Linked DNA regions of Homo sapiens: regions 1, 2, 3, 5, 6 and 7 are each linked to region 4. Evidence: promoter capture Hi-C in 16 types of primary human blood cells and fetal thymus (Javierre and others, 2016). All regions are on one chromosome and are shown on one strand. The core of a region is centred on a gene start or on the middle of the fragment in contact, and the rest is flanking DNA. Distances in the headings are between cores, read along the strand shown. Region 1 has its middle 33 kb from the start of LUCAT1. Region 2 holds the start of COX7C (cytochrome c oxidase subunit 7C). Region 3 holds the start of SRFBP1 (serum response factor binding protein 1). Region 4 holds the start of GIN1 (gypsy retrotransposon integrase 1). Region 5 overlaps ARRDC3 (arrestin domain containing 3). Region 6 holds the start of FEM1C (fem-1 homolog C). Region 7 holds the start of CETN3 (centrin 3).

Evidence for each region. The method cuts DNA at HindIII sites, captures the fragments that hold promoters and counts their contacts. A CHiCAGO score of 5 or more calls a contact.
Region 1: a contact is called between a fragment that was not itself captured here and the fragment with the promoter of GIN1 in region 4, in 1 of 17 cell types (total CD4 T cells). The highest score is 9.2, in total CD4 T cells.
Region 2: the fragment with the promoter of COX7C here is called in contact with the fragment with the promoter of GIN1 in region 4 in 2 of 17 cell types (total CD4 T cells and non-activated CD4 T cells); the score reaches 11.4 in total CD4 T cells.
Region 3: the fragment with the promoter of SRFBP1 here is called in contact with the fragment with the promoter of GIN1 in region 4 in 2 of 17 cell types (total B cells and fetal thymus); the score reaches 6.0 in total B cells.
Region 5: a contact is called between a fragment that was not itself captured here and the fragment with the promoter of GIN1 in region 4, in 1 of 17 cell types (non-activated CD4 T cells). The highest score is 6.8, in non-activated CD4 T cells.
Region 6: a contact is called between the fragment with the promoter of FEM1C here and the fragment with the promoter of GIN1 in region 4, in 5 of 17 cell types (fetal thymus, total CD4 T cells, non-activated CD4 T cells and 2 more). The highest score is 12.1, in fetal thymus.
Region 7: the fragment with the promoter of CETN3 here is called in contact with the fragment with the promoter of GIN1 in region 4 in 1 of 17 cell types (non-activated CD4 T cells); the score reaches 7.1 in non-activated CD4 T cells.

What each region holds. Positions count from the first base shown.
Region 1 is chr5:91,279,162-91,283,291 of GRCh38, forward strand. No RefSeq gene overlaps it. Among named protein-coding and RNA genes, the nearest start is that of LUCAT1, 33 kb to the right of the region's middle. RefSeq lists enhancers at 357-1,298, 1,297-1,556, 1,299-2,240. The HindIII fragment of the contact is 1,095 bases long and covers 1,974-3,068 here.
Region 2 is chr5:86,615,368-86,619,449 of GRCh38, forward strand. COX7C (cytochrome c oxidase subunit 7C) reads left to right here and starts at 2,574. Exons shown (of 3, transcript NM_001867.3): 1 at 2,574-2,763; 2 at 3,986-4,082. The coding sequence starts at 2,689. RefSeq lists enhancers at 2,242-2,321, 2,333-2,998, 2,385-2,679, 2,612-2,701, 2,999-3,664. The HindIII fragment of the contact is 5,230 bases long and covers 1-4,082 here.
Region 3 is chr5:121,959,942-121,963,688 of GRCh38, forward strand. It overlaps SRFBP1 (serum response factor binding protein 1), which reads left to right and starts at 2,034. Exons shown (of 8, transcript NM_152546.3): 1 at 2,034-2,127. The coding sequence starts at 2,092. RefSeq lists enhancers at 1,687-2,225, 1,970-2,019. The HindIII fragment of the contact is 3,156 bases long and covers 255-3,410 here.
Region 4 is chr5:103,118,448-103,122,411 of GRCh38, forward strand. GIN1 (gypsy retrotransposon integrase 1) reads right to left here and starts at 1,691. Exons shown (of 8, transcript NM_017676.2): 1 at 1,617-1,691. PPIP5K2 (diphosphoinositol pentakisphosphate kinase 2) reads left to right here and starts at 1,854. Exons shown (of 31, transcript NM_001276277.3): 1 at 1,854-2,041. RefSeq lists enhancers at 827-1,328, 1,329-1,829, 1,665-1,924, 1,955-2,144, 2,195-2,254. The HindIII fragment of the contact is 9,897 bases long and covers 1,649-3,964 here.
Region 5 is chr5:91,374,232-91,378,421 of GRCh38, forward strand. It overlaps ARRDC3 (arrestin domain containing 3), which reads right to left. Exons shown (of 8, transcript NM_020801.4): 3 at 2,390-2,537; 4 at 1,280-1,382; 5 at 691-947; 6 at 1-45. Among named protein-coding and RNA genes, the nearest start is that of ARRDC3-AS1, 4.0 kb to the right of the region's middle. The HindIII fragment of the contact is 4,797 bases long and covers 1-4,190 here.
Region 6 is chr5:115,542,960-115,546,897 of GRCh38, forward strand. It overlaps FEM1C (fem-1 homolog C), which reads right to left and starts at 1,816. Exons shown (of 3, transcript NM_020177.3): 1 at 1,564-1,816; 2 at 1-724. The coding sequence starts at 534. RefSeq lists enhancers at 1,365-2,131, 1,673-1,967 and silencers at 1,397-1,566, 1,617-1,666, 1,767-2,106. The HindIII fragment of the contact is 1,787 bases long and covers 1,004-2,790 here.
Region 7 is chr5:90,407,869-90,411,598 of GRCh38, forward strand. It overlaps CETN3 (centrin 3), which reads right to left and starts at 1,888. Exons shown (of 5, transcript NM_004365.4): 1 at 1,777-1,888. The coding sequence starts at 1,793. LOC731157 (a long non-coding RNA gene) reads left to right here and starts at 2,132. Exons shown (of 2, transcript NR_105024.1): 1 at 2,132-2,436; 2 at 2,632-2,801. RefSeq lists an enhancer at 1,658-1,857. The HindIII fragment of the contact is 6,726 bases long and covers 1-1,978 here.

The DNA of each region.
Region 1 (4,130 bases), core at 1,271-3,770, about 12 Mb before region 4:
CTCGGCCTTCTCTCTTTAAAGAAAAAAAAAAAAAAAGAAAAGAAATTTGTCTATATAAATATACAGTTAAAGCAAACAATATAATATATAAAACCAAATTTGGAAATATTTTTTCCTTCCATCAAAACTTAAACATCAATTTTAGAACACAGTGTTCTATATCGTAAGGAGTCCTAGAGTCTACCCAGTATAATGTCTCACATCCTCGCCCTCTTGCTATAGTTGTCAAACCTAAATGTACCTAAGAATCACTGATAGGTAGTTGGTTAATACGATGGATTATTTCTAGGCCCCGACCTCAGACAGGTGCCTCCATGCCCCCACCCAGCCAGGACATTCTGAGTCTGTAATTTGAAGTGAGCTTCAAGAATCTGCATTTTTACCGCGGCGCTTTTGATGCAGGCGGTCCACGGTAAAGTTAGAGAAATGCTGCCCTGCTGCTGCGCTGCAGATTGAACTCTGGGGAAGAAGAAATGAGCACGACCGGGAGCGGTCCATCTAAACCGGTCCATTTAGATGGACAGGTTTTAGCAGTCCATCTAAATCTGTCTCAGGAGCTTTCTTTCTTTCTTTTTTTTTTTTTTTTTTTTTTTTTGAGACGGAGTCTCGCTCTGTCGCCCAGGCTGGAGTGCAGTGGCACTCACTGCAAGCTCCGCCTCCCAGGTTCACGCCATTCTCCTGCCTCAGCCTCCCGAGTAGCTGGGACTACAAGCGCCCACCACTACGCCCGGCTAATTTTTTGTATTTTTTAATAGAGGCGGTGTTTCACCGTGTTAGCCAGGACGGTCTCGATCTCCTGACCTCGTGATCCGCCCGCCTCGGCCTCCCAGAGTGATGGGATTACAGGCGTGAGCCACCGCGCCCGGCCTGTCTCAGGAACTTTCAAAGGGGAGTGGCAGACAGAAAATGAGCACGGTATCTAATCAGCAAGTAGGATTGCAAATAAGAACGCCTTTATGAAGGCCCCAGTTTTTACAGTAAGTCCCTCACTGCCCGCACACAACGATGCCAAGTTCCAACCTGATTTGCGTCACCACAGTTGTGGGTTTGCGCCAAGGTTAGTTATCAAGCGTAGTGAGAGGATAAATTCACAAAATGAGGGACAAAAATAAGACGAGAGCTGGGTACAACGGAAGTGAAACCTGGGTGGAGGTCATCTCCAAATCACAGTGGAAGGACGATGTCAGGGATTTGTCCCAACACTCTTTTGATGAAAGAATTTGATTAGTGGACTATTGCACTCTTAAAGGCAAAGAAAACAAAGCACGGCAGTGCCCCGCTCGGTCGGGATTCAAAAGCAGTGAAAGCTGCCTTGCTCTGTTTAAAGCGACAGGACTGCTCTGCTATTCAGGAAAGACTAAGGAGGCAGCGGTATCTGCGAAGTCCTGCGAGCTCCCGGCGACAGGAGTAGCGCGAGCAGCTGACGGGGGAAATCCACTGGCAGCGAGTCGGATGAGTCAGCGCTGAGTCACGCTCGGCGCTACGTGCCGGCCTGGGCGGCCGCAGCCCGGGGCCCGCAGCCGCGGAGTCAGCAGAGATCCGCCGCTTCCTGGAAGACCCTCCCTGCGCCTGAGGGAGGGGGCGGCGTCGCCTCCTCGCGCCGCCAAGGCCCCCTGCAGTCACACACTCGCCCGCACGCACGACCTCCTCGCTCCATCCTGGGGACATCCAGGATTCACCCCCGAGGGGAAGAGTCCCATGTGACAAATGGTTAGAGCTTGGGCGGATGCTTTCATCCCATGTGTTTCCTCAAAGCTGAGATTCCAGCGCTCTTGCTCTTTTCGTGTTGTTGTTAGGTTTTTAACTTTTTTTTCCCGTTTCCTGGCAGAGGATTAACACGCTGATCTTTTTATAGTTTCCAATATTTTAAATGAAGCACAAGAAGAATGGATTAATAAAACGTGTTGAAACTTAAGCATCAAATCGTCACACTGCTCTGGGTTCTAAAATGACTAGAAAGTGACTGCACTAGAAGCTTTGAATGTTGGGTAACTGGGAAGGATTAACTCGGTTCTGATGTGCCCTTTGTTAATGAAAATCAAATCTTTGCTATTTGTCCAACCACCCTTATAATAACTAAATTTGTCTAAAGACTGGAGACATGTGTGGTAATAATTAGATATGGAGTCACCAAAGAACAGGGTAGCCATGCCTTTGTGTTTTCTGTGCCTTAACTAACATTCTGTTGTCCTAATGTGCAAATGATACATTGTTGGTTTTAAAAAATATTATGGCAATGTTTATATCCATGCTGAGAGTTAATAGCAGGTATTGTGTCATGAAGTGCAGCTAGTCAGTGAGATAGTCCTGATACAGGTGGGGTAATTATTATTTAGGGACAATTTGCGGCTGTTTTTCAAGACAGACTGGGTCTTTAGAAGTTGTGCCAGCTGTTACCGGTGGTTCTGCTTCATTGGGAGAATTATTTCCCTCCTTATCCCTGTGTACGTGTGAAATGATGCAAAACAATAGAGTGTTCGTGTAGTTTGACTGCTTTTCTTGCAGGCAAGGAGACTGAAGTAATTAGAGGTTGAACTGACTCACCAAGGTTACTGGAGAAGCATGACTACCCAATTTTGTAAAGGAGAGAAAAGCCCCAAACAAATACAAATAGGAAACATGAAAATACGAGAGAGGATCAGAGCCCAAGAAAGCAAAATGAGTAATATGGACCAGAAATGGAATCTCATATACTTGAACTAGTTGTAATGGGAGGTATACTTAATGCGCTAGCCTTAAAAAAAAAGTCAAATTATTGCATAAAAATTTAAGATTTTAAGTAATTACATACATCATTTGATGTTTTAAAAACTGTGCCTGATTCTGATTCATTATTCTTAGCATATCCATATGGATATTGCCTTGGCATTTACCAAGTCAGACTTCAGTTCAAAAACCCAAATTCATCTTATGACGGTGTGAACTTGGACTTGATACTTAGCTTCTCTAAGCCTATAATGGAGATTATAATCACCATTTCACCTGTTTGCAAAGCAGGCAGGATTAAATGAGATGATGCCTATAAAAGGTTTAGCACATTTCCATGCAAAAAATTTCTCAGTAAACGAAGCTTGTATTGTGTTATCAGTATTATTGAACTTGACTAAACTATTGATCAGATCACAAAGAGGTAGTACAGGTACTTTGTCCAGATCCTAGAACTAATAAAAGCTTTGGGAATGTACATCACAAACGTAGTGGTTCAGTGACTGATATGGTTTGGCTCTGTGTCCCCACCCAAATCTCATCTCGATTTGTAATCCCCACGTGTCAAGGGAGGGACCTGTAATCCCCATGTATCGAGGGAGGGAGGGGATTGGACCATGGAGTCAGTTTCCCCCATGCTGTTCTCGTGATAGTGAGTTCTCATGAGATCTGATGGTTTTATAAGTGTTTGGTAGCCCCTCCTTCATTCTTCTCTTTCGTTCCACTTTCTGAAAAAGGTCCTCGCTTCCCCTTCACTTTCTGCCATGATTGTAAGTTTCCTGAGGCCCCCCACCCAGCCATGTGAAACTGTGAGTCAATTAAACCTCTTTTTTTTCTTATAAATTACTCAGTCTCAAGTATTTCTTTATATATAGAGTGTGAAAACAGACTAATACAGTGACCTTGGGCAAGATCCTTAGACAAGAGTCTAAAACACCTGAGCAAGTACTTAATGTTCTTTGATTATGAGTGGAGAGATGAAAGAAATAAAGGAAATCTAAATAAAAGGAATGCCCTACAATCATCAGTTGGCCAGAAAAGTGGTAGGTGATGCAAAACAACCAGGCAAGAACGCTTTTCTCCCATCCTCGGAGAGAGCTCCTTGACAAAGTACCATAGCAGTCACTGGGCAGAGAGGATATACTATTGTACTATTGCCCCTTTGCCATACAGGAATGCATTATTTAGCTGAGACAGAAATTTGGTTCTGTCCAGATATAAGGCTGATGAGCTTAGCTGTTGATAGAAGTTAGTGACCAATCTCCCATCAACTTCCCCAAGCAGCTCATAAGAGATAAGTCACTAAGTCATTTTCTTTTTTTCTTTTTCTTTTTTTTGATGGGGTCTTGCTCTGTTGTCCAGGCTGGAGTGCAGTGACATGATCTCAGCTCACTGCAACCTCTGCCTCCTGGGTTCAAGTAATT
Region 2 (4,082 bases), core at 1,324-3,823, about 17 Mb before region 4:
CAATTTACCTCCTAACTTATCAGTAGCATCAAAAAGCTGCAAAGTGCATTTCTGAGTGTCTAGCATTCTCTAGAATATGCCAGCTGCTACACCACCTTCAAATGGAACCACTCTACCTCCCATACTTTCAATGTTTTGGCATGTTTGGCACATCCATCTTCATTATAGCTGAAGAACTATCACAGAAACATGACTCCAGAGAAAGATATATTTGAAGCAAAGATAATATTTTACATGATACAGCCAAATTCTCATCTACAGATTGGTAATGAGAAACTGTTTTCCTCATGGCATCTAGAAGAAAGGCTAATTTCCTTAAATAGAACAGCTGTGTTACTTCTAGTTCTCTCTTTGTTGCTCCATAAAAAACTACCCCAAACTTAATGACTTGAAAAAACAACCATTTTATTATACCACACAAATCTCTAGAACAACATTTTGGGTAGGAGTCAACTAGACAACTCTGCTCCACACAGCAGTGACTGTGGTCACTCAGCAATATTCAGCTGAGGGCGGGGCTGGGCTGAAGTGTCCAAGATAGCTTCACTCACATGCCCGGCACTTGAGTGTAACCACCACCCTCCCCCATATTTACATAGGTATAAACTTTTTTTTTTTTTTTTTTTGAGATGGAGTCTCGCTCTGTCGCCCAGGCTGGAGTGCAGTGGTGTGATCTCGGCTCACTGCACGCTCTGCCTCCCGGGTTCACACCATTCTCCTGCCCCCGCCTCCCAAGTAGCTGGGACTACAGGCGCCCGACACCACGCCCGGCTAATTTTTTGTATTTTTAGTAGAGACGGGGTTTCACCGTGTTAGCCAGGATGGTCTCAATCTCCTGACCTCGTGATCCGCCTGCCTTGGCCTCCCAAAGTGCTGGGATTACAGGCGTGAGCCACCGCGCCCGGCCAAACATATTTTTTTTTTTTGTATTTAACTTACCACAAAGCCCATGAGAAGGCAGACAGTTCTGAAACCATATTCTGGAATCTCTGCCCTGCAGGTCCCTAAAGAGTTAACTCAAAGCCAGATACCCAATGGAGGCTCAATTAATGTGAATTAGAAGCAACAATGAACCAAATCCACAGATAACATTACTCACACTAGATTGAAAAGTGTAATCTAGAAATATTAAGTGTGAAAAAGTTTCTCAATTATAGTTAAATCAGAATTCTTTAATATGTAAAGGCAGTGAACGGAATGTTAAAAAAAAATGGAATGTCACATAACTTCTATAAATTAGGTGGTAGAGGACACCAGTTATGATGCATTTCATGAACCCCTACTCAAAAAGAAGCTACTTGTTGAAACAAAATATGAATTTAAGTGTTTTTTTTAAGTGTTTTTTTGGGGGGGAGGGGCATGGTTGTTCTCTTCCAAAAACTGAAAAAAAAAAAAAAAAAAAAGACGAAAAGAGCATATATGTTATGCCCTTTTCAAAGCAAACCTTAGGTCTTATTGGAATTGTTTCCTAATGCTATATAAATGAGACACGTGAGGCAATATACACTCCCCCACAGATGAATAACATAACATTTAGGTTACCAGGGCCTTTCACAATCTAACCTAACACCACTTTCCCAGGTTCATTTATCACTGGTTTCTTCTCAATACCTTCTGGTCAAAGACCACCAGAAGCACACATGTAATTGACAAACGGGGTTTATTATTCATTGCAGTAAGGGTTCTCTGTAAAATATTAGAAAATGCTTATTGGATTTGGGATTTTTTTCTCCTAATATTGGCTACCTTACCAAATCTTAGGAGGAAGAAAGGCTAGATCAAGGCTAAGATTGTAATTGGTAAAGAAGCAGAAGTCATCAAATTAAACCAGATAGGGTGATGTCCGGTCATTTTCGTGGCTTGGACAATGTTTTATCTGTGTTCAGATGTGATTACACAGTGATCATATTCTTTTCTTAATGAACACTGTCAGAGTGGTCTTGTTGGATGCTAATGCTTGCTGAAATTGTGTACGTTCATCAGGCGGACACCAGTTCCTAGTCCAGGCTAGCTCCAGGTGTCAGAGGCCACTTTTCCCTTCTACTCCTCACACATGCTGTACTCATACCAGACTTGAGTTTTCCCTGCCCTTTGTTCTTCCTTCTTTTTTATTCGATTCCCATTATCTTTAGTGATCATTCCCTTAGCATTTCAGTTTTCTCTCTGAAGTCCTTTGTGCTGCACGTTGTTTGATTACTTGTGTTTATGCTTTGTTTCTTCAGCTAGGATCATTAGCACATATCTCTCAGCATTGGCAAAAGTCCTCGAAATCATTGACACCTAGCATATACTTTATTTTTAAAAAAGAAAGAAAGAAGAGAAAAGGGATGGGTTTATTGTCCTTTTCAACAGACTAGAGTATACGGGGTGAAACTGCTTCACTTGATTCAATAAAATCGTTTCCGGTAACAGGCCCCAGGAATCCTAGACCTAAGCCTGGCGCGAAACTACATTTCCCACAATCCTTCGGGGGCTGATAAGGCTCCGCAATGGTCTGAACTACAATTCCCACAATCCAGGGCGATTTCCGCTTTGTCGCGTTTCCTCAAGGCTCCGCCCCATTTCCCATCTTTCTTTTCAGTCCTTGCGCACCGGGGAACAAGGTCGTGAAAAAAAAGGTCTTGGTGAGGTGCCGCCATTTCATCTGTCCTCATTCTCTGCGCCTTTCGCAGAGCTTCCAGCAGCGGTATGTTGGGCCAGAGCATCCGGAGGTTCACAACCTCTGTGGTCCGTAGGAGCCACTATGAGGAGGGCCCTGGGAAGGTTAGTGTGTAAGGGGCACGGCTTCGTTGGGGGAGGGGGCGCTTGGCTGTGACTCGCGCACCTGCAAGGCCGCCTCCGGGCTGTGGCGTGGGAGATGATAGCCAGAAACCAGGCTGAGACGCAGACTAGCATTCCACTTAGCCCAAGGACCAGTGAGGAAGCTGGGCATCCTAGCGCGTAGCCGCTAAAGGAATGGGCAGGTAGATCCGGAAGCCCTGCCTCCATCAGCCACCTGACGCCCCCTCCCCCGCCCCGCAGAAAGCCCTGAGATGGCTCCGGGAGGCCACGGCTGTAGGTGTGTTGGTTAAATCCGAGCTGGAGGTCATCGGACCCGAAATGAAGGTCATTGGAAAATCATGAGGAAATCAGGGCCTCTGGTTATGGAACAGGCTTTTTAAACTAGCTGCCTAAGTTAGAAGTACTAACCCTTCACCTCAGTTAAGGCTGGGTTTGGCCTCAGGTGTAAATAACTTAAACCACATAGCAGTAACAATCTCGGAGGGTCACACGAGGCCTAGTCATAAAGGCCAGAGAAGGTGCTTGGTAATGAAAAACAAACAAACAAAAAAAACTGTGGGCCAGGTGCGGTGGCGCACGCCTGTAATCGGGAGGCTAAGGCGTTCGGATCACCTGAGGTCAGGAGTTCCAGACCAGCCTGGCCAACATGGCGAAACCCTGTCTCTACTAAAAAGTACAAAAAAATTAGCCGGACGTGGTGGTGTGTGCCTCTAATCCCAGCTACTCGGGAGGCTGAGGCAGGAGAATCGCTTGAACCCGGGAGGTGGAGGTTGCAGTGAGCCGAGATCGGGCCACTGCACTCCAGCCTGGACAGAGCGGGACTCCGTCTCAAAAAAAAAAAAAAAGAAAAAAAAAGAGCTGTATTGCACTTAACATTGCCATGTATCTTCTAAGGTGACTACTTAGGACAGTAGTTTTTTCGATTTTCTAAAGTAAGAAACTTCTCACTATTTGACGTTTGAGTCCTCAAGACCATTCATTGCCTAGTGCTTAGTAAAGCCAGATTATTTCTTGCCATGTAGTGTTTTGTGATGAAGGTCATAGGATTTGAAAGATAAATGTTTAAAACGATGTTATGATTTATGGCATATGTTAACCTGATGATGTAAAATATAACTAGCATTTCCTGTATACTTGTATTTTGATTATTAAGCAGATGATTTGAGATTCAATTTCGATTACTTTTTCTCTTTTTTTCCAACAGAATTTGCCATTTTCAGTGGAAAACAAGTGGTCGTTACTAGCTAAGATGTGTTTGTACTTTGGATCTGCATTTGCTACACCCTTCCTTGTAGTAAGAC
Region 3 (3,747 bases), core at 784-3,283, about 19 Mb after region 4:
AGACAAAGGAAACAATTACAATTCAGCGTACTATTTAGTAGTGGCAAATCTACCTTCATGTAACACTGGTCCAACAGGAAGTCATCTGTTAAATCCATTTGTGTCCAAATAATGCACCAAACTAAAAGAATGCCAATTTCTTTTACCAAGTCAGAGCTATTCTAAGCGGAGTTCAGTTTTATGAGATAACAGCATGGGTTCTGGACAAGGCTGGTTTCTTCGGCAAAGGCTCAGAAGTGGGCCTTGGTTAACTAAGCTTTGGGCACAGTCTTGAAATTATTAGTGATTTCCTTTTTGAATTTGAGTTTTGTAAGTGAAGTCTAGTGGGATAATGGAACATGTGCCAAGGCCTTGTTGTCTCAGGTCATGTGTGGTCCTGTCCCCAAAAGCTCCTCAGGTGGATTCTCTGGTTTCCTGCTCTCCTGTCTCCACCCAGCAACTGCTGCCACCTTGCTCCAGTGTATACACTCCTACCTGAGTCTTGGGGCAGGGGTCTCAGGCACCTTTGAGGGTCTGCCCTGACAACCTAATGTCTCTGTGCTTTAGGGAGCATCGTATTAAATAGTAAATTAACAAACACCATGATGAGTCAAGAGACGCTATGGAAGAAACTTTTTTTTTTTTTTGAGACGAAGTTTCACTCTTGTTGCCCAGTCTGGAGTGATCTTGGCTCACGGCAACCTCCGCCTCCCAGGTTCAAGTGATTCTCCTGCCTCAGCCTCCCGAGTAGCTGGGATTACAAGCATGCGTCACCACGGTCGGCTAATTTTGTATTTTTAGTAGAGACGGGGTTTCTCCACGTTGGTCAGGCTGGTCTCGAACTCCCGACCTCAGGTGATCCGCCCGCCTAGGCTTCCTAAAGTACTGGGATTACAGGCATGAGCCACCACCCTCCGCCGGAAGAAACGTTTTTCCTGCATTTTGAATAAAGGGGCCTGGATTTTCATTTTGCACTGTACCCCAGGTATTATGTAGCTGGACTTGAAGTCCTGTAGCAGTGGACAGTCCCAGGCAAGTGACTCTGGGCGAGGCACTTGGTGCCTCTGAAGTCACTTTCCACATCTGTAAAATAATAGTTCAGAGCAGAGTAGGGTGGCTCACTCCTGTAGTCCTAGTTATTTGGAAGGCTGAGGTGAGAGGATGGCTTGAGCCCAAGAGTTTGAGGCTGCAGTGAGCTATGACTGTGCCACTGCACACCAGCCTGGATGACAAAGAGAGACTGGGTCTCTAACAAAATAATATTAATAAAAGGAAAATAATTTCTATCTTGTTGGATTTCTGTGGAGATTTGGAGCTAATTTATGTAAAGCTCTTGGACCACCATTTGACACATTTTAATGGTCAATACTAGAAGGTGTTGACAATTATATATTACCTAATTCAAACACACTCCCTTACGTCTCCTATGCTTGCCGGCTAATAAACAGCCATTCCCACAGGCAGTACCAAATGTGTATCCTGGTTTTGCTTCAAATGTTTATTCCCTAAATTTAAACCCTTCTATAGTGTGCAGGAAAAAAATGTCCGCACCTCAGCTATAATGTCAGGTTGTAACAAAAAACTGCGAGGATTTAAAAAGGTGTGCTTGTTAGAAAAGCAGAAATCTTCACAAATACTAGATTTAAAAAAATGGAAGCAAAAAATCGTTCATTCAAGTGATCATTTCAGAAGAGCTCTTTCACCGCCGTTCAGCGCCCCCCTAGCCATTAGAGAGAAAAACCAAGGCCGGTACAATGCGAGCGCAGTGTACCAAGGGAACACACACACACACACACACACACACACACACACACACACACACACACAAACCGAATCTTGAAAAACTAGACGTTGCCCAGCTACCAGCCCCCGTCTGGTTTCCATAGGAACGCGCAATTCCGTTGCGTAGCCCTCTGCGCCGGTAGTTGTTCTGTCTCAGTTCCGGTTTTCCCTTCCAAGCGTCAATGTTTCTTGTTCCCAGGCGGCAGCTAGAGCAGAAGGCGGATGAGTTTTGGACAGAAGAGGCTTCCGTTGAGGGGCGTGGCGACGCAGCCGCGGTCTGAGAGACCGGTTCACGTGCAGGCAGCGGCGGATCATATTCCTTCATCTACCATGGCTCAGCCGGGAACTCTGAACCTCAATAACGAGGTGAGCGCCGAGGAACCTATGGGGCTGACTTTAAGGGTCCTCAAAACCAGCTCTTTTGAGACGCGTGGTCGGAGGCGGGCATAGAGGGTGCGGTTGGAGGAACTTTCGTGGTGGGCCCAGGCGGGTTTCCCGCAACTTGGAGTTTGGCAACCGGTAATTTCCCTTTTCGGTCTCCAGGTGACTAAAGTGAGAGACATGTGTCAGGCCCCACGAATTTATGTCTGTGGGACTTTGGGAAGAACCTTTAGCCTGTACGTTCAATATTCTCGTCTGTAAAGCGGAACTCAAGATAGTTCGTCCCAGGGTTGTGAGATTAACTGAGATACGTAAAGTATTTGCAAGTGCCTGACCCTTAATAAACTTTCAGTACACATTACCTGCTCTTTATTGCCTGTCGAAAATGAAAGAGAGAAAGTAAGAGCTGTAGCTTCTAAGAAATTGGTGGTCTTGAATGAGACTGTATGCTCAGTACTTCGTTTCCTCTTCCAGTTAGTGTCCTATTTCTTTGCTTCCGTTTACAGCAGAACTTCAATAAAGAGCTGTTTATACTTGCTATCCTCAATTCTTTTTTCTGCTTTTTCAGTCCATTCTCATCAGACATTTGTTCTCACCACCGTCACTTCCATAGTGTGCGGTGTCGACAAAATACCATTTCTACCACTTATCCCCCTCTGGTTTCTGCTTCTATTCAACAAAATAATGTCATCCAAAGTCTTAAAGTAAGCTGGAAACATAAGGATCGAGTAAGGACCTCACAGTTAGATACAGAAAGGAAATTCTTTATCCCGTTTATGAGCAAGTCACTGTTTAGATTACACACAGTAGTGTAAGGGATATTTCATATTTTCTAGTAACCTATACTCAAGTAAGAGAGCTAAGCAACACTCACCTGTGTTACAGAACAATGTGTGAAGAATGCCTCCAAAACCTAGTAATGCAGAAAAGTTTCCAAAGGCGGCAAAATGAAATGGGTGATACTTGTCCTTGGTCTTTAGGGATCTTGCACAGGAATTGCAGTCAGTGATTCAGGAAAGGGGAAGAAGTCATTCCAGGCAGAGGGACTGGTATAAGCAGGAAAGGGCTAGTAGCAGAAGAACCCGTGGGTAATACAGGGATAAGTAACTCTTCACTGATGGGAACTTGTGAGATGAAGAAGGAAATAAAACTGAAATATATTCTCTGCTGCCAGATTAACGAGTCAGGATTTCAGTTGACAGTGGAGTACAGGATATGCTGAAGAGGGAAGCTGAAAGTAGTTACTATTTACTCATAAACATACATTAAGCTTGTGCTTTGTGCCAGAAAGCGTTTGGTGGGCTATTTTGCATTAGGTTACCTGTGATGTATGAAAGATCAGAGTAATGTCCCTGGGATTTCAACCCCAGGGAGCTTCATATCAAATTTTGTAATGACTTTGATGATGGAAATGACAGGGGATGAGTCATTAAAGACTCTTTTCACACTTAGCTAACTTTTGTTCTTCTTCAAAACAGTTAAAATTTGACCTTTAGGAAACCTTCATTAACTCCTCTCGGTCTGGGTTAGGTGTCTGTTCTTTGTGCACCCAGATTGCTTTCTCCTCTGGAAACACTTATGTAACTGTTTCTGTCTTCCTGTGTT
Region 4 (3,964 bases), core at 441-2,940:
TATTTTAAAATCTCTTTCCTTTCATTAATGGTGTTAATGTTTTATAGCAATGTTTATAAAGCTTCAGTGCTAAGAAGAAAATAATCAGAAGACTCACGAATTGTATCCTTTTATAACGATATAACAGTCTAATGCAGTTCACAAACTGCTGGTTCTGGAGGTAGAGAGACAGATGACAAGGAGAAATAGAAAATGCGTAAGAAAGAAAACTCAGTTCACGAAAAGCATAGCCTTTGAAGTAGTTAAAAGTTTTACTGCTAATAATTGGTATTCATATACAAAAGTAACGTAAATGAAAGTTGTTTTTTTTTTTTCAAAGCCCATACATATGAGAAAATGGCTTGAAACTGTAATATTCGAGACAAATATAAATATCTTCTTATACTCTGATTGCTAAGTAAAGGTATCATTTACAAGGGGGATTAAGTGGTTTCTACTACATAAAGAAAGACTGTCCTGGGACTTCTTTGGATATGCTCATATTTTCAAGAATTTCTCTTAAAATCATTACTTAATGTACTTAAACATGTAGGAATAAGAAAAAATGAAAGTGATTGATTACAACTTGTAGTTTTGCAAGAGGAATGTCAGGGTCACATTTGGTTAAGCTTTATACACTTTGTCCCCTCCATAAAAGCAAATAAAATCAACTCATTGCTTAATTCCTTTAATAATTTTGTGTTCAATAAAGTAAGGCAGTTAGGTATTATGTCAAGATTAGGACTTAACTGTTTCACCAAGGGTTAAAAACAAAGCCACCAATTTAAGCCCCTAAAAGGTTATAATACCCGCTGGTTCCATCTTAAAATCTGCAATTTTCAATCAACATGTTAACTTGGATCGGAATTCTGACATTTGAATTATTCTATTTTAAGCTCCAAAAAATGGACACGCACAATTTTATGCAACGTCAAGGACCTGTAAATTTAAATACACTTCTCTGTAATCTGGTTCACTTCAGAGTACAAATTCATTGAACAAAAAAATGCCTTCATCGCCATATGCATTCACATGAAGCCACATGGGATAAATGCATTTCCACTTTAAAAAGTATCTACTTTGGTTCAGAAATGCCCATTTAAGAAAAACCTACACTGAGATAAAGTGGACATTTTTCTTTTAAAACTACGTGACAGGATTCCCTCTTGACCTCACGTTTCTCCCCGCCACGTATTTAAATTTGGGGCAAAATTTCTGATTAAATGACTGATCAAAGTAATGGGGAGAATTCTTCAACGCCGGCCAAAAGTGCTTAGTCTCAAACGCTGTGAGGGAGCATTTCCTAAGCTTTGGGCGACTCGTTAACGGAATCTTAAGGGCAAGGTCCAACCACACTCAGAATCAGCAGGAAAATGACCGTTTGGTAAAACTCAATTACACCCAGTAGGCACCTCCCCAGGCCCGAAACAGCACTCGCCCTTTCTGCTCAGCTAGCGCGGGACATCGCAACGCCCAAGGCCCTCCTATCTCAAAGGCGCTTGCGCAAAATCTCCCCACAGACTCAATTAAACCCTTCCTTAGGCCGGTCGAGGCGAATGGTTTTGAAATTACTGTCGGGTTACGCCTCACTTTAAAAAACAGTAGGTATGACACAGCACACCAGAACGACCACTCACCGAGGTGGTCCTAAATTCAAACGACAGATTTAAGCTTCCTCTCGTGATTTATCTCGCGCTGCCGGAAGCGGAACTACCCGGGTCCTTTAGAGGGCAGTCCTTTGGGGAACCTTGGAACCACGGTCAGAAAGGTTAGGACTGATCATTTGGCTCTTGCCGGAAATCGTTCCGCCCGGTGAGGTTTCGGCGTGAGACCCGAGGAGGGCGGGGAAGAGGCGTGACGGAGATTCCTGAGGTGTAGTAGCCTGAGGTTCCCTTATGTGGCCCTATAGCTGTTACTGAAGGAAGTAGCCTACGTCCACGCCTACAACTGAAGTCTCTTGACAAACACCTCACCCCTGCCTCCGGGATGAAAGGGGGTAACCTAGACCTGAATGGGCTTGACCATCTCACAACTGCTCGCGTGACGACCGCATTCGTGGCAGGTGAGGGCCCAAAACCGGAGGAGAACCGGAGATGCGGAACCTGATCATGCCAGGGTTGAGGCGGCTGCTGGGCTTCTGCTTTGTCTCCTGTGCTCTGCAGACCCTAAACACATGCTCCACCGAGGGGCTTGTGCTGGAGAGAATGACAGCCTGGGCGTGGAGTGACAGTACAGCTTTGAGGGTCCTTTCGCGCCTTGATTTCTCCTCCTGCTCCCCCATGGCTTCCCTTTTTCATTTCTTGGGTTCGAGACGCCAGAAATTGAAGATCAGCTAAAAGGGAACCGCTGAGCTTCTACCCCACGCTGTGCCTGGCTCCACTGAAGTGATTAGCCTCGAGTTATGGGACTGCTGTGGGTAGAGGTGGCTTTTTAAAAAATTTTCTGCCTTAGTCTTTATCCCTCTCTCTGTCAACCCCACACCCACTTTAAAATAACAAAAGCCTCATGTGTTGCAGCTTTTCATAGTAGGGACCGAGGCTGCAGGGCACTGCCGCACCTAGTCATTTGGAGGTCGTTGCAGCCTTCTGCGCCTTGAAGAAGAAGGGGCCAGGGTGATGATCCCTGGATCTCATTCACGAGGTTCTTGACCACTTCCTGGGAGATTGCGACTCTTGGTGTCCTTTGGCTAGTAGTTGTCTTGCTGGAAGGCTTAACTGTGGAAGTGGGAAGCATAGCTGACCTTAGCACGTAAAATCCTCGCTCTACACTGGGACAGGATTTTGTTTTGCTATTGAGAATTCTTAAATGAAATAGATAATTTTTTTGTCTCAGATAGATAAAATAATAACGATAGTTGCCATTAACTGAGTCTTATGTGTGCCGAGTGCTTTACATAGTTTGTCATTTATTCCTCTCAACAATTCCAGGAGGTATGTTAGATTATTATCACCATTTTACAGAGTTAGAAATGGAGGCTTTGAACAGTCAAGCAACTTGCTCTATTAAACATTTGTTATAAGTAAACGTTTGAATCTGTGTTAAAAACCAGATCTGTCTGCCTTCAAAATCTGTATTCTATTGTCCTGTCCTGTTCTTCCTCGATTTCAATTTCTTCACTAACATTTTCAGTGTCTGAAAGTATCCATTCATTTAAAAAATTTTGGTGTACCTACTTATATGTCTGACAAAAGTTAGACATGATCTCTGTCTTTATGGAGCATTGTGATGCAGAATTAAGTAGTGCAGAACCCAGAATACTGTACTTACTGCAGCACAGGTTTATTTAAAGCAAATGACTAAACTGATTTGCAGAAAATTTTAAAATCAAAGGTTGCTGTTTTAAATGTTAAATTCATATGACTTTCAGAGTAGTTGTTGTGAGGGTATTAAACTGAACAATTGGTAGAACATCTGTTGATTACCCAAATAAGTGCTATGAACCAAGTTAAGTAGTGGGAATATATAGATTAGGTCCTCATTCTTTAAAAGCTCCCATGCAACCACAATATAGACAATGTTATGGACTATTAATTTTCTCACGTGGAAAAGGAATTGTGGTTATGTAGGAAGGTGTTCTTATTTTTAGCAGATACATACTAACGTACTTAGAGTTGAAGTGTGTTGATATCTAGTACTTTCAAATGGTACAGCAAGTGTATGTGTGTGTATGTGTCTGTGTGTATAAATAGCAAATATGGCAAAATGTTGGCAATTGTGAGTATAATGGTGGGCATATAGATGATTAACAAACTGTTCTTTCAACTTTTCCGAATATTTGAAATTTTTCATAATAAAAAGTTGGGGAGGAAAAAACCCAACCCTGATGGAAACAGATAAGTGAAAAGATAGATCCAAAATGCTGCGGAACATAGAAGATGGGAGAGGGTTTTTATGTGTATTTGGGGCCTAACAGAAGTGTGATAGTTCTCAGGAAAACCTTCACTGAAGACCTTTCAGTTGGTTTTTGAATGGCGGATAGGAACTT
Region 5 (4,190 bases), core at 1,005-3,504, about 12 Mb before region 4:
CAAATTAAGAAATAAATCCATAGCTCCAGGAATATCCACATATACCTAAACATTGCAAAGAAATATTAAGTTTAGAATGCCAAGTATGATTTCCTTTTCAAAAACTCATAACCAATTTTAATGTTATTTGAAACCCCCATTTACTTCATTTTTAAACTTACATACATGAAAAGTTTCTCTTTTATGTATAATTCTGTATAGTACATTTACATATAAGGTATAATTGTAAGTCAAACTATATAAAGAGTTATGTATTTTATATGTCACTATATATGGAATTTAAAAAAATCAAATCCTGGATGTAAGACAAAACTATGTCATAACTTTAAGACTTAAAAACAAAACAAAAAAAAACACCAAAAACCTCTTGGGCCAGGCACTGTGGCTCATGCCTATAATTCCAACATTTTGGGAGGCCATGGTGGATGGATCACTTGAGCCCAGGAGTTCAAGACCAACCTGGGCGACATGGTCAAACTCCATCACTACAAAAAATACAAAAATTATCCAGGCATGGCTATAGGCACACCTGTAGTCCCAACTACTTGGGAGCTGAGGTGGGAGGATCACTGGAGCCCAGAAAGCAGAGGCTGTAGCGGAGCTGAGACTGTGCCACTGCATTCCAGCCTGGGTGACAGGTGTTTCAAAAAAGAAAAAAGAAAGGAAAAAACCTCTTAAATGTGTACATACCATTAGTGAATATTCCACGCGGATTATACTACAGTCGAGGATAGAGGGAGAAACTGGTGGAATTTTCAGCAACTTGCCATTCCACGTCTCTGTCTTTCCAGATGATAAGGATTCCCCACGCAAGTTAGCCACAAGCTGTTTTACTTCCTTCATTTTCCCTTTGGCATAGAAGGCCTGTGTTTGGTAAATGGCTGCCTTTGGCACCACCATTCGGGAAGAGCAGTTCTCAATCTCAGCAAATATCTGAATTGATTCACCTAGAGAGGGAAAAATATATACATATCTACTGTTAGAAAAAAACAACAAAAGAAGTCAAGATTCTTAAAGCTAAAGTAAGAAAGTGCAACTAACATACATGAAAAGATGTCCCAGGAACTGCAAATAACTTGAGTCATAGAAATGAACTAATCAGTAGCTATTTGAAAAAGGAAACTACATTCTACTTTGTGAAAAAAACAAATGGATAAGCACAATTTGTTATTTCACAAAAGAATACTATATTATGTTTATATTTAGTAGTCATATTATAAATTTAAACACAAAAGCTAAGTGAAGAAAAGTTTTTTGTGGGAATCTACCTCTTACATACCTGGGGTATAGCCCTTCCTTTCAATTTTGGCACTTAAGGATATTGGGCCTGAGGTACAGAACCAGCAACAGAGTGTCTTTTCTTTTGTGCCTGCTTGGGGTGACTGTAAGAAAAAAATTAAGAGAAAAAGGTCAGTGTATGGATTGGTACAATCAATACCAGAATATTTTAAAATATAACCCTAAATTTATGGAAAATTAAAAATTACAACTGGTTTTGCTTTTTTTTTGTATCCAGACATACTTCTTATTTTTTAACTAACCGATGGTTTTGAATTATACCATTACTTTTATTTTCATATAAATTTCCATTCAATTAGAAAAAAAAGGTAAAGGGTTTACAGCCTATCCCATAAACATAGTTTTTTAGCTCACACTATTTACAAATATAGTAATCAAAAACCAACCAAATAAAAAAAACCCTTTCCACATTCCATTTAAACTGCCTTAAAAAGGCAGCAAAGAAAGCAATCTGATTATAATTCCAAATGTTAACATCTTTCTCTGAGACTATTAAAAAATCAATATGTAAAAAAGGAAAATGCCCATTTCTTATGTGCTTTAAAGATGTTACCATTTGTTTAAATCAAATAAAGTTTTAAGTCAAATTTGAATTATTTTCAGACAAATGCAATTAAAAATAGATTTCTTTAAAAAAGGAGTTTTTTAATGAAACTAATGATTCCCCATTATTTGACAACTATCCCTCTATTGGAATAACAAAGTATAGTACAAATTTTAGATTATGATATTGTCAAGTAAGTGATATTGTATTATAATAAAAGATACTACTGCTCTTCTTCCACTCAAATCATCCAAGGACCAGATCTGTTTTTTGTTATGGCTGTCATACTCTGAGTAAGAGATACTTCATATCATATACTGGTCTTAGTTTTATATTTACTTAAAGGTATACTACAATGTCAAAAATATGAGCATATTTTTCATTAATTTCAGTGTTCTTGACTGTATTTAAGAAAATGTATATTTATGAAATTTTAAAAGAAAACCAGTATTTTTAAATTATGACAACTGCATAGTTTAGGTGATTGATTATTCTTTAATATTTATATGCCAAAAACAAAGAATAAATAATTCAGTCAATTCTTACCAGTAATGAAGGAGTGTTGATATCTATATGCTCAAAGACTGTAAATTCCTTCTTTAATTTTACTGGTAGTAGCCAAGGCCTGTGCAATTCGGCTTTCACCCAATAGCGCACACTGCCATGTCGGCCTTCGAATGAGGTAGCGAGTGGTCTGTGCAGAATATAAAGGTCAATATATTAATTTTATACCTCTTTCTAACAATTACACAGTAGGTCAGAATAGAAGTGTTAATATATTGTATTGTTTATGTTCCAATGAGGTATCAAACATATAATTTAAAAAATTTCCAAAGGGATAAGTCACTGGGGAAAAAACTTCCTATTTCCAACTAAGAATAAACAATAAATATCTTTAAAATTTTGCTTTAAAAAGCCAGAAGAATACAATCCATTTAAACTAAGAGGAGGCTACTTTTAATGATGGTGGCAAAATCATGAAAGTTTAATGGGCATTTTTTGAAAAGGCCAAGAATTCAAACACAAAGTTGAGAATGGTTTAACTATTTCTACTGATAAATTCTAGACACTGGTTAAACATTCAGACCAAATTCCCTATAGTACTCCACTTCTCATTAGCCGGGAATTATCATCTTTTAATAGCAACTAACTAAGGTCTAGAAAAGGCCTGGAATAGTCATTATAGTTTCAAAAATTTCACATTTCCTAAGTTTACTGAAAAACTACTTTTGTATCTCTCAGTTTACTCATGTTCTAATTCTTGTTTGGCTGTTCTCTAACTTTACGGGCTTCAAAAGAAAAAGATATAGTCCTCTTGATCTATGTCAAGAGAATAAAAAAAAATTTTTTTTAACTCTGTCAGATTTTACTTGTGGAAGGTTTTATTTTAGCAAGTTCAGTATCTTTTTCATAATTTCATTAGTAAAATACTCAATGTTCAGTTATTTACAAGAGTGCTAGCTTAGATTAGCATAAGAAACACTGGTGTTTTCATAATTTTTTTTTTTTTTTGCATTTTAGACTCCCACATTAACTTGTATAGCAGAGAAATAAAATCTTAAACTGTATGCTAATAGTTATCCAAAATTTATGTTAAATGACTTTGGTTTATGGATAGAACTTTAACATTAAATGACGCTGAAAATACTCAGGCCCCATATTGGCCTTATTCTATCAACAGACTTTAATATTTTTCTCAGAAATTAGATGAGGGCATTATATTCCAAATAAAATTCTCAAATAATACAGTAAATAGAATTTTCTAAAAAATACCATTTATGACTTCTCTCTCTATATATAACATCTCAAGCACTAGAATTAACAAATGCAGAATTAATGTACATTTGTCACCTGACAAAATCTTATGTAATCTGTTTATTCTCCAGAATAATCACCACAAGTGCCATTTTGCAGGTTTTAATATTTGTTAAAAGGCATTTTTTTTTAAAAAGTTTGTATCATCTCTTCCAACAATCTGTCATTACTTTAAGAATATACCACTTTCCTTTTTCCTTTCTTACTAGATTCCAAGTTTTATATTAATGTATCCTTGATGCATGTTTCCTTTTAAGCCTGGGTCATATCTCTTGTGTGACCTTCCCAATAGTTCTTTGTACAGAAGCTATTAAGTTCATATCAGAAGAAAAACATTTCTAAAGTTAGGATATTCCTAATTATTTTTATTTTCGAAACTTACTGCTATTGGTTAGTATTAGCAGAAAAAGTAGAATATAGAATTTTTTATAAATTGAAGCTACTAAGACTTGATAGGGTCTATCTTTTCTCATAATGATAATTGATAATAAACTAAGTATAAAGTGGTTATTATTCGACTAGCAACTTCCAA
Region 6 (3,938 bases), core at 566-3,065, about 12 Mb after region 4:
TTTTCTATTAACATCTGCCCCCTTTTCAAGTAAATACTGAGCAATCTCTTTATGTCCTTTGTAACATGAAATCATCAAGCACGTATGCCCATGTCGGTTTGACACTTCCAAATCAGCTTTGTGTTCTACAAGGTACTTCACTATTTCCAAATGGCCATCGAAACACGCAGCTCGAAGAGGAGTTGAATTGGTTAAAGTCGTGTTGTTGACAGATGCTCCATGATTTAACAAGGACTGGACCACCTTCAGATGTCCTGCTGCAGAAGCGGCCCATAAAGGGGGAGCCCCCTCAATGGTTTCGCCATCAAAATTGACGGAGCCCCCAACTTCTATGGAGGCACTGCATTGCTCTAGGAGGAATTCCACCATGTCAAGGTGCCCATACCTGGCGGCCATCAAGAGTGGCGTGGCCCCATTTGTTTTTTCAGAGATCAAGGAGGAAACCTCCTCTTTGGATTTGCTTGCCAACAATTTGGTGAGAAGCCGGAGTTTGCCATCCCGAGCTGCGTTAAATACTGCTGTCTTTAGATCCATTTATGTCCAGTTGAGAGGCTGTGCTTTATTTATCTTTCAAAGCAGAGCTCCAGTTTAACTCTATCGACACAGGCAAGAGTCACAGGAACCAAAGTCCAATGTTAATTGCTGCACCCCAGAACGGATACACAACCACGAAGAGTATGTTCCGTCCTACTGCTTTCCAACATCTGACAACCAGGGCACCAAACTAGAGAAAGAAAAAAAAAGTAGCAGCATTTAATTTTCTATAGAAGAAGGCAAAACACTTCTTAATTTCCACTTCTGTGGGAAGAAAGGAATAAAAGCTATACTTCAGGCACTACTCCATCCCACACACCCCCCCCACCCCCAAAGAAAAGGTGGTAAAGAAAAATACAGAAGGATACACAGAGACCCAAATGTTCTGGTCGCAGGCAGTCTCCTCCATGTGCGGAAAATTTAAACACTACAGGCAGCCCGTTTTCTCGCCTCCAGCTCTAACCAGCCAAGCTTTGTTCTAGTTTTGCTTTGCACACGCCCAGGGAGAGTACAACCGAAAGAGGCAGGAGACTCGGGTTCAGAAATGTTTCTCTTTCTTGCAACTGCAGGAGAGCTGGCCAAGGGCGCCAGGCTGGAAGGCCTGAGGCCGGGTTTCGAGAAAGAACAAAAAGGTCGGACACACCAAACCCCGGCTAAGGCCAAAACTGTGCCCCGAAAGATTCTCTTTCCTTTAAAACTACTCACGGCTCTCAGGAAATCCGCCTGCCTTTTAGTCATTAACTTCGCCCGCCCCATTTCGATCACCCCCCACCCCCCGCCAAGGGATGATCCGCAGGTTCCTCAAACCACAGTCGCCCCAACACAACCTTCCCCTCTCCCTGTTCCAGACAACGGCAGCCCCCTCCCAATCTCCTCCATCGACCACAACCCCCTCCCGATGGGCCAAGCTGTGGCCTCCAGCCCGCTGCCCGCCTTCGGCTCCCCCGGCGCCCTCCTTCCCGCCCAGGCCTTCCGCGGGCACCTCAGGCCCCGGCCCGAGCCCTGGCAGGCCGCTGCCGCCGCCACTACCTGCCCGGGGACTAGTCCTCCCCGCCGCCGCTGGTCACTCGGGCTTTGTCCGTCCCCTTCAAAGGGAAACCGTTGTCCCCACCGCCGCCCGGGCCGCCCTGCTCCGCCTGCGGCCGCACAGCTCCTCCATGCTCCGCGCCCCAAAGGAATGAATCCGGCCGCGCTGTTCGCCACGCCCCGCCACCCGAGCTGCCTCCCGCCCTTAGTCGGCTCGGACTGCAGCGGCTGCAGCGACTGCTGCGACGGATGGTGTAATGGGCTGCGAGCCGGGGGCCGGACAAGCCTGAGCGTCACATCACTGACTGTGCCGCCACGCCATTGGGCCGGGGGAGGGCGGCGGCCGCGGCCAGCAACAGCCTAGGCGCGGGGCGGGGCGTCGCGGCCGGGGTGGGGCGACGGGGAGGGGGCGGGGCCTGAACTACTGGGAGGACGTGCCTGCGTGCAACGCGCTGGGGGGCGGGGCGCTGCGAGGGGGCGGATCTGTGCCCATCGAAGCGGCCCGAGGCAGCTCGAGTTCTGAGATCTCGCTGGCTCTTCTCCTCTCGGATTTTCGGGGTGCTCCCTTAGGGAATCTTTCGGTCCCATCTCAGAGACCCCAGAAGGGAAGTGTATTAGTGCGTTTTCACGCTGCTGATAAAGACATACCCGAGATTGGGTAATTTATAAAGATAAAAAGATTTAATGCACTCAGAGTTCCACGTGGCTGGGGAGGCCTCACAATCAAGCCAGAAGGGGAAAGGCACGTCTTACATGGCAGCAGGCAAGAGAGGAAAATCAGAGCCAAGGAAAAAGGGAAACCCCATATAAAACAATCAGCTCTCCTGAGACGTACTCACTACCACCAGAGCAGCATGGGGGAAACAGCCTTCTTGATTCAATTATCTCCCACTAGGTCCCTCCCACAATATGTGGGAATCATGGGAGCTAAAATTCAAATTTGGGTGCGGACCAGTATTACCCTCACACACGTGAAGTCTCTCGGACTAGTCTTCCGTCCTTACTTTGGTGGGCCCTGGAAATTACCAAGCTCGTAATTACACCTCAGAACACACACGGAGGAAACTGAAATTTCAGAAAATGTGATTAGTTTTGGAGGCTGTCAAACTGACTCTCTTTCTAAAGTAGCCTCTAAAAAGCATAAAGGCTACGAGGAATGGTAAACCCTAAGAGCAATGTAAAGTCAATGAGGTCAGGTTCTTGAGCTCTGAGTAATAAATCGGGAACTAAAGCTTAAAAGGTTATATATATGAATGAAAAGAATTACTTCTTCATATAGTAGTTGATAAACCTCTGGAATTTGATGCTAAAACCTACGTTGCATTAAACTAGGATGAAAAAGTTTAAATGTGTTTGGGAAATAACGCCCATAATGAATCCTGATGAGAAAACAGAATTTTTGAAAATGGACCTTCAATCACTTTGTTTGAGGGAACTTAAGCTCACATAATTCCTTAGTACCACTAGGAGAAATAGAATATTACAGTAGGCAGTCTGACCCTCAGCATATGTAATCCATAACGTTATGTTAGAAGTCATGCAGCACTAAAAACATTTATAAAAAATCACAACTTCATTTTTGTATATTGTAGTGTTGTTCAGAAGTTTATGTAGTTTTGCATAATTGAAATAATTTTCATACAACTATATATTTTGCTTTTCCTTTCTATACTCTAAACGTTTCTTATGTTTTTACAGTCTTAATAATTTTTAAGTATAGCATAGTATTTCCCTTAGGTAGTCAGTATCAGACTACACTCAACATCAGATTCCCAAAACTGAAGTTAAGGTAATTGCCACTGAGAAGAAAATATAAAAGAATAGAGTATAAAGGATAAGATTGACCATCCATAAAAATTAACCAGCCAAGAGGACTGGCTGTTTTATCCCCAGCATATGTCACAGTTCTATACTCTCCCAGGGTACAGATAACAGTGTACAGTGTCCCAACCAAGGCCTAACCTGAGCTGACCTGTCTCTCTCACCTAATTCAATAAGATGTAAACATTCACATCAGCCATCTTCAAACTGAGCTCTGTATCCCTCATGGGATTGTTAAGGGATAGACGGACACTTAGTTTAAAGGCTACCAATTTCTGCTGTGGCTCACACCTGTAATCCCAGAACTTTCGGAGGCTGAGACAGGCAGATTGCTTGAACCCAAGAGGTCGAGACCAGCCTGGACAACATGGTGAAATCCCAACTCCACACACACGCACACACACATGCACGCACACGCACACACACACAAAAAATTAGTCAGGCATGGCATGCAGGAGGCTGAGGTGGCAGGATCACCTGAGCTGAGCTGGGGAGATCAAGGCTATAGTGAGCCATGATCACACCACTGTGCTGCAGCCTGGGCCACAGAAGGAAAC
Region 7 (3,730 bases), core at 638-3,137, about 13 Mb before region 4:
TTAATTCTCTTTACTAACAGAAATTAGCCAATAATTACCTTCTAAATTTCAAAAAAGAAAGTACTTTGGAGAAAGATAGGGAAACTTTCCCTTTATGAGTCAATGACCTGTTTATTCCATAGTCTAAATTGCTATAAATCTGAACTTCGCAAAACTAAAGAGTGTTACAGATTATTAAAAGAAATGAGGACCAAACTTTTCTTTTTCCCAGCTTTTTATTTATTCCCACTAATGTTACTGTGGAAGAAACAAGAACTGTGAATAAGCAACACTACTTTTATGTCTGAAACTCCAACCAACTCCAACCAAAAAAACAAAAACACGTTATCCTACAAGAATGTTAAAGAATTTAAAAAAAATCTCCAAATGAAACCAAAATTCATAACTGACAATCACTATATATCGGTTTACTGTTGATAGTTCTGATAATTATGTTCATAAAATTACAAAAAAAAAGTGAATTAACTTATACAGTATTTTAGCACTGTTGGTTCAAAATGTTTTTAGATTACACGTTTTTAACAGTTTGGCAATTTATGTGTCATTTCCTCCATTGATATTAACAAACCATCGAAAATATTAATGAGTCTAAACATATGACAAATATTAGATGCCAATATACAATGTTTGTGCTTCATTCTATATAAAAATGTGATGAGTCTTGTCTCATTTAACATGTAAACCGGAGGTTAACTTCTCATAAACTCTGGAAACGCTTAAAGAAAAAAAGCAAAAATTATTTTAAAGCCAGAAATGTTTTCCTTAAGAGCTGCCCATCTAAATGTGCTCCAAATTTTCAAATGGAGCCGCAACACTGGAATAACGAGTTTTGAAACACAATCCGGTAACACATTAACATGTCAAACCAGTTGACTGTACTTAAAACACCTATCTAGTTGCATTTGAAAGTCGTTTTGGTCTCTGAAAGCTCCAAAAAAAAAAAAAAAAAGCTAGGAAGTGACTAGTAGGTGCAGTATAACAAAGCTGAGGAAGATCTTCCTTTCATGAGACCTGACTTGACACAAACTTGGGTATTCCTGGGGTCAGTCTTTTCCTTCCTGAGACTTTTGGAGGCCAAGTCCAGAACCGACCCACCCCTGACCCCATCCAAGGGTACCATGATTATCCCTTAGCAGAACATGGAATATTTTCGGAGTGTCGTAAGTGTATGGATAGTTTTACGGTACAACGTCTACATAGTGGGAGAGGGCAACAGAGGGTTAGAGGTTAGAACTGAAAGGTAAAAAAATGCAAGAAATTTAGGAAATCCAAGAGACAGACTGCCAATTAAAGTCACTAAAATGGGTCTCCAATTACACCGTAAAGCAGGGCCCTGGGAGAAGAGGAAAGAGTTTTTGTTATTTCCAAAATTTATAGGTGGGTGATTGCATTAGCAGCGGAGCAGCCGAGGTGGGGCCCTGACCAGGCACACGGATGAATGAAGGGATGTCCGCGACCTGATCTGAGAAACAAGAGTAGAAGCCTCGCGATATTTCATTCCCACCTCGCTCGCAACTAAGCCCAACCTTCTGGCAGTCCAAAGCCCTACGCGCTGACAGAAATAACCTCCTTAGCAGAAATGCACTGGTCTCGTTCCCTGCAGGGCATCAGAGCCCAGAGGGTGAGTGATCCGGGCAGGCTGCCCTAGGCTCCTTTCCCGCGTCCCAAACTACATCCCCTGCCTCGCCTCGGCCCCAAACGTCCTCCCTTCCACACACACCCTCCCTGGGCCCCGCTCCGGGGTGTGGAGAGCACTGCCGCCTCCTTATTACCGACCTCAGAGCTAAACTCATTATCTCTTCGCACAGAGACGTTCCTCTCAAGAACGATTTTAACCCCCTACCCAAGGCAGCAAGACGCCCACAGCCGTTCAACAGACACGAACGACCTCAGCGGCCTCAGGGACCTCCCACAACATAGACACTTTTGAGCTGGATTGGTTGAAATGTCGCTATGGTTCTGCCTATTAGGGGGCGGAAGCTTTACCAGTTCTATTTTCATTGGGTAGGTTTTACGTCAATCAAGGAAAAAAAAATTTTTTTTCTGTGCCCCGCCCACCTCCTAACGCCCCCCCGCCCCCCCAATCTAGGGCCGCTCTCGCCCTTCGGATTGGCTCGATGCGTTTTTCCCCGAATCCTTTGCGGGTCCGGCCTCCGATCCCTGTGTGGCTGTTTGGCGGGTGGGCGCTGTGTTCCTCTCTCGTAAAGCCGTGCGGTCTGTGGGCCGCCATTCAGAAACTGGATGGACAGCTTCGGCGGTGGGAAGGGAAGGGACATGCTGCAGGCCACCCTCCGGCTAGAAGGAGGGAGTACTTGAGGAACAAGGTCTGCGAAAATTGGCTGTGCTCTGTTCTAAAACTTGGAATGGCCTCAGTACCTGGGGAATGTGTTTAAAATGCAGACTTAAATGTCCGTTTCTCCATTCTAATTTCAGTAGGTATGAATCTGCGTTTTTACTCCTCACAAGCCTTCCAAGTGATTCTGAGGCAGGTGCTGTGGCTGTACTTGGATTATCACAGGGTTAGATTATCAGGCTATTTATGATTTAGCTGTATCTAAACCACCTTTCCCTCTCTTTCCTCCTTTGAACTGTTTGAAACGGATTTGTTCCCTTCTGTCTCTTATTTTTCAGTGCTGTAAGCTGTTAACACACATGAGACTGTCTTCACTACCAAACCAAGTCTCCTAAAGCTCACTTGAATGTCTGCTTATTCGTGTCTCTTACTAGGTTCAATTTCTTGGAGGCCGTGATTATATCTATTTAACGCTTTTCCTTGTACCTAATAAAATGTCTGGTGCGTAGGTGCTCGGTAAATTGAGTGGAATCTTTTGAAAATCCACAAAATACTGAGCTAAACAGCAAATCTCATAAACGTGAATAAAATAGCCTGAGGATGGGAGTTGAAGGCGGAGAATATATAAACATTATATGTTTAAGGGATGTATATAAAATTTTAGAGAAGGGAGAGAACACAAGATATGCTTCTTAAAGGAGGTGACATAAACGTTAGACCTAGAAGGATGGGCTAAATTTGCACAAGGAAAGATAGTATGATAGAATAAGCTAAAAATTAGCTAAGGGATAGCACCCCTAAAAAACAAAAGTGGAACTTTTATTTTGTTCGTATTTTAAATTTTAAAGTACCTTTATAAATCACCTTTGAGTCTAAAAGGAAAGAGAAATTGTAGTTACTAGAACATAATGATATTGAAAAAAACTATATGTTAAAATTTTAAGATACAGACCAAGTTATAGGAGAACATTATTTTAAATAAGAAAGAATAAAAATAGGCCAAGCATTTATTTGAAGATGTTAGAAACGAAGAACAAATTGTATAATTGAAATTAGGAAGAGGAAATTAGTAAAGATAAAGTTTGAGAACAGTGTTTTAAAAGGAAATTGGTAAAATTGATAAAGTACTCATAATCTAGTATAAAGCTGGTTTTTGGCAATACCAGTGAAATTCAAAGACTTATAGGAAGTGTAACAAGAAAAGGAATAGTGCCACTAGTAAGGTTGGTAATTTAATAAAAGGGAGGTTTAAAAATTATTAAAATATTTTATACAATTTTATACCGCCAATAAATATTAATAGAAAATGAAATAGTCACTTTTCAAGGAAAACATAACTCAAAAAAGGTGGAAAACTGAATTAAGTCAATAACTACAGACAGGACTGGAACAAAGATGCCAAAGTTCTGTACTCACAAATAAAAAGCCTCCAGCCCA